Regions from separate parts of the Homo sapiens genome. Here region 2 is linked to region 1. Evidence: promoter capture Hi-C in human tissues and cell types (Jung and others, 2019). All regions are on one chromosome and are shown on one strand. The core of a region is centred on a gene start or on the middle of the fragment in contact, and the rest is flanking DNA. Distances in the headings are between cores, read along the strand shown. Region 1 holds the start of C1orf105 (chromosome 1 open reading frame 105). Region 2 overlaps DNM3 (dynamin 3).

What was found. The method cuts DNA at HindIII sites, captures the fragments that hold promoters and counts their contacts. A contact is called where the count stands out against the background at its distance.
Region 2: a contact is called between a fragment that was not itself captured here and the fragment with the promoter of C1orf105 in region 1, in 3 of the 25 tissues and cell types used here (adrenal gland, dorsolateral prefrontal cortex and hippocampus).

Annotation. Positions count from the first base shown.
Region 1 is chr1:172,419,314-172,422,064 of GRCh38, forward strand. It overlaps C1orf105 (chromosome 1 open reading frame 105), which reads left to right and starts at 1,372. Exons shown (of 7, transcript NM_139240.4): 1 at 1,372-1,593. The coding sequence starts at 1,573. The region is part of intron 1 of LOC102724528 (a long non-coding RNA gene); the gene reads right to left. The HindIII fragment of the contact is 11,853 bases long and covers 1-2,751 here.
Region 2 is chr1:172,273,626-172,276,376 of GRCh38, forward strand. The region is part of intron 15 of DNM3 (dynamin 3); the gene reads left to right. Among named protein-coding and RNA genes, the nearest start is that of DNM3OS, 130 kb to the left of the region's middle. The HindIII fragment of the contact is 5,960 bases long and covers 1-2,751 here.

The DNA.
Region 1 (2,751 bases), core at 122-2,621:
GACAAGAGAGTCAAAAAAATCATTCATCAGTTCTATTTACTTCACATCTGACCTAGGCAAGCCCTGGCAAAGGAGGTATTTGGAAGATGTGGGCAGGAACCCCCAGTTGTAAAAGGGAGAGTCCTCATTAGTAATGCTGTTTCTTCGGACCACAAATTTTTTTAAGGACTGAGTTCTCCACTCAAAAATGAAAAATCAGTTTCTTGGTTTAAAATGTTCATATGGCATGTTACATTATTTTAATTGTATCCCCGGTCCAGTGACTACCATTTAAAATCAGTGATAACTAAGAAAGTTCAAAGGCTCCAAACCAAGGCATCAACTGAAGCTCATGTATAGCAGGAAGGAGGTGACTTGATGTAAAATAGCACATAGCATGCAGTCTTTTGTCCTTTCCTTCCCCTCCAGTCCAGGCATTTGATTTTTAAATCAATATTCTTAGTGGATAGCATTCTTCATCCCAATAGACAAAAATGTACCTAGATGATTTCATACCACCTCCCCAAATGAAAACCGAAGTTGTCAAAGAGAAGGTTTTCTTCAATTCATTTTTTAAAAGTGTTTGGTACTTTTCCACTTTGTCTTAAACATGGACTTATTTTTATATGCAGTGTTACACAGTTTAGATGTATAAAACTTAAATTGACCTGATGAATGATGAGAAGGAAAAACTCCAGTCATAACAGAATGAAATGACAACCTTACTCAGTTTTCCTTAACAAAGAAGTGTGTTCCCTTCCTTACATTCTATAGGCAAGAAAAAAGAGGGCAGGGGAAAGGGATGGGGGGCAGCCTGGAGTAAAATTAAATTATGCTAAGATTTGTTAATATGTATTTAGTAAATAGTATTTCTATGTTTCATAATATACCTTTCCCCAACTCTTCTTACCTCCACCTCCACCCTGCTATGTTTAATAGACTTGAAAAATTACTCCCTTTTTCAGAGTTGATCATAACTCAGGATAGTCAGGAAGAGCCAAACTATTATGCCTTTAGTAAACATAATATTCCTTATATATTTTCATTCCTTTATTTATGCATCAAACATTTCTTGAATTCATGATAATGTCCTGGACCCTGGGAATACCAGAGAAGTAACAGAATAAAAGTAGCTTACAAAATAGCTAAATAAGCAATTACAATGTAGTGCTACAATAAGAGAAAAGTTTGGTTGTCTTTCCAGGGAGAACTGTTCTGACTTCAGTACTGAAGCAGCTATCTGAGTTTTAGTATACTGTTATCAACTTTACCCAACACATGCTAATGTTCCAGAACATTGTGATTTTGACTTCTAACAAAGAAAGGAATACTAGAACTCATTTCAGCCAATCAGAAACTGAGCTTTTCATTCTGAATGGAATTATATGATTCAAGATGTAAATCACACAGATGTTGGTAGAGAAAAAGGCATACTGGTATTGAAACTGTAAACTGGCCTGTTTACTTCGTCTCCTAACAAAAAACACTTTGGATTCAGGTTCTCCACAGCAGTCTTCCACTGGCCACAGTGAGGGGAGCTAGGTTTCCCCAGTCTCCAGCTAGAAAAACTCAGAACATCTAAAGATCTGAAAGATGGAAAAAAGAGAACTAAAGGTAGGAAAAAAATAAATGAAACTTCCAATTCTTTCCTTATGGGGTTACCCTGGTAAATGTTTGTATGCCTTGGAGGCCACATAAACATTGAGGGGTGTTTCAACAGACATCCTAGAAGTTGAAAGCCAAAAGAAGGTAAGGAAATAACAGCTGATGTTCAGTTACAGGTGAAGATAATTTTAATGGGTTTGGGGCATGATAAATTTCAATGCTCTTTATCGTATAGTTTGGAAAAAATGTTGTACTTGCCAACATCTTTTATAACTCAGCATTTAAGTATGATTTTTTTAAATCCTCAGAAAATTGATACCAGATTCTTTAGTGCAGTTCCCTGAGATTCTGAAGTAAACCTTCTCAACTGTGAATGCACTTTAAAACAATGAATCTCAGTCACAGGAAGTTAAGATTGCTGAGAAAGAAAAAAAAACTTGTATAGACTTTTATAATTACTAGGGTCTAAATCTGAATAAATCACATTGAGCTTATGACACTGTATGTTTCCTATTTAAAGGGATATACTAGCTGTCTCTATTACCATAGTACAGGTGCTCCTTGACTTATGATAGGGTTACATCTCAATAAACCACCACAAGTTGAAAATATTGTAAGTCAAAAATGCATGCAATACCCTGATGAACCCATGATAAAGTAAAAAAATCCTAAGTTGGGGAGGACGCAGAGCAAGATGGCCAAACAGAAGCCTTCACTGATTGTTCTCCATGCACGAACATCAAATTTAACAACTATCTACACAAAAAAGCACCTTCATAAGAACCAAAAATCAGTGATCACAAAGTGATCACAGTACCTGGTTTTAACTTCGTATTGTTGAAAGAAGCACTGAGGAAGATAAGAAAGACAATCTTGAATTGCTGACACCACCCCTCCCCCATCCCCTGGCAGCAGCCACATAGTGTGGAGAGAGAATCTGTGCACTTGGAGGGAGGGCACAGCGATTGTGGGACTCTAGAATTCAGTGCTGCCAATACGGGGCAGAACTTAGCTGTTGCCAATGGAGGGACCATTTAGACCACCCTTAGCCAGAGGAGAATTGCCCATCCCAGGTTTCAGAAACTGAGTTTTGACTACCTCCACCACCATGGGCTAAAGTGCTCTGAGGTCCTAAATAAACTTGAAAGCCTGTCTGGGCCACAACAA
Region 2 (2,751 bases), core at 167-2,666, 150 kb before region 1:
CAGAAAATGCACATACTCTCTTTCAAATTTCTAGTACACAACTTTACTTTCCATTAATTGCCAGGTAATAACATCATCACATCATGTCCCTTTTTGATAAACTTCTCTGTATATTCATAACAGAATGAAAGTGAAAAAAGCAAACTAGTATTATGACAATGGTTTTGATCTGGAGAAACATCTGAAAGGATCTTGGGGACTCCTGAAAGAGTCCTGTGTACCCCAGTAGTCCCCAGATAATACTTTGAGGACTATTGTGAAATGGCAGTTATGCAATACGTGATATAATGATTCAGTGGTGTCACATCAGCTTAAGCTGTATTTTCATGCAATGGGGGGTGTGCTTATTGCATAAGTAAGTCTGTTGGATGTTTCTCTTACTTGTGAAGAATCAATATTACATTGATTGCCAAATTTGATTTTTCAAGTCCCCTACACACTGTCGTAAAGCAGATGGTAAAGACAGAATACCTCTGAAAAGTCAAACTCATGTCAGCTAAATTGATAGATTTATCTTAGCATCGAAAGCCATGTCACTCAGTCCCCTCCTACTCAACCCCAATATAAAAACCGAAACAGTGATGGAATTTCCAGAGCATTTGTTTACTCCCTTTAACTACCATTGCTCTTTGCTGAGTGATGATGCAGGGCAGATGGTGTCAGGGAGAGAAATCATCAACTAGCTCAGGATTGAAAGGGGATGAAGATGCTAGAAATGTGTTGATGTTTGAGAAGGATGTGTGGAAATGAAGAAGTGACTAAAGAGGACAGCCTTATCACCAACAACATAAGCATATCCCTTGCTCTTTAATTCTGCCCCAGAGGGAAAGGAACAGGGCTTCAGTCTCAAATGAGAGAGCCACTTTTCTAGTCTGGGGTAAAGATATCATGCATACCTTTCCTTCCTTCCCCTCCACTGTGATAGATCTGAGAAGTGATGAAAGCCAAGAAATATTGAGCTGTTGGATTTTTTTTACTAAATGCTATGTATGCCAAGGGTTATTTGCTTAATATCCTTCATCTTGGATCAAAATGGTGAGAAATTTAAAACCGAGAATTTCCCTGAAACACTGGTTTTTAAACCTTCTCTAGTGAAGGTTTTTTTTTTTTTTTTAATTTTCAATTACTTGCAGATCAATGCAAGGTCCTATTGCACGCCTGAGCAGTTTGCAACTTGCATGGCATGAGACTCACCTTATGAGTTCAGCAGCACTCAAACTGGTCTAAACACTTGAACAAGACAGACTAGTCCACTGATCAGGGCTTGGATGTCATAGCAGTGTCAAATTGCTACAAGGGCTTCCAACTGCTTACTCTTTGTTTCTGTATTTTTGTCATTATACACTAGTAAACAAGCAGTTCTGGGACCTGAAGCAATGCTCTGTTATTGGCCATCACAAATGTAAGGTTGAATTTGCCACATGCACTGTCTAGTCAAGGTTAATTATTCCTAGACAACTATGACTTGCCATCTGTGTAGCTGTTGCTAGATGCACAAGTAGAATTAGTTATGGTAGTGTGGGCTCATCAGGTAGAACCATTCAAAGTGTATATCACTTATATCTCATAGATTAGAACACATGGTCCAGATACTTATTAAATTATTGGATAGATCAAATTTCCATTAACTATACCTCTAACACAGAGGCTATCATCTGTGTGAATATACAGATGATAGAACATACAGAACAAGAACATGCAGGCTCAATATTTGTCACTAAAGTTATTTTATCATTAATTATTTTCAACATAATCTAATTTTCTTCTACAATCTGGAAAATATTTGGATTTTTTGGCATGCTGCATGTCTGCTTCTTTATAGTGCCTTCTTTCAAATACCTGAATCATAAATGAAGAAAAAAAAACTTGAGAAAGATACAGTTGTTGACATTTCAACCTTCTTGCTCTTTTCAAAACCACCTTACCTGCTAACTTCTGTTGCCTCTCCCCACCAGAGATGATTATTAATTTTTTCTTTCACATGGCTCAACTGGTCTGACACTCTTGGAAAACAAATATTTGTTTCCAGCCCATGGAAACACACATAGTGTACTCAAGCCAGAAGTTCTGAGAAAGCACACTGTCAGGTGCTGCTACTCCTTTGGAGAACCTGGCTCCCATGAAAACATCTGAAATATAGTTCCGTAACATCATCTATTATTAAAAGATAATTTTTATTGCCTTGAAATTTCTCCTTGAAGAGTATTTCCTTACTGAAGTGTTTTATGTTTAACTTGTCAAAAATTAAGGAAGGCATGAAAGTTGCCTTATGGAACTGAAGGACTCGCATTCTGCGTTGTCTTTCCAGAGGACTGAATTAGTAATGTGTAAAAGTGGCTCAGAAAAAGATATCAGCATATCATCAGGAAGAGGTTTTTAATACTCTTAAGATTTTATGTATTACATATATAGTATATATTTTTAGTATAGCTTTTTAAAAATAGAATGGGCAACTTGTGAGTTAGCAAGCCTCCCCCCATTTCCAGAGCACTTTAGCAGAAGCTAGATAACAACTTATTGGTAGGGTGTCCTAATTTATCATCACTCTTGAGAGTAAAAGGGGACAGTATTAATAATTAGTGTGGGACAGCACTTGGCAATAAACTGGGACTGTCTGGGCAAAAAGAAACAAATGGTAAATCCTACCTGTGAATGATGTCATAGAAGAGAGTCCTGCCTGATGGGGGAATTTGGCTTAGGTGACCCCTATAGTATATACTCACTTGACTATTTTCTGCACTACCATTTCCT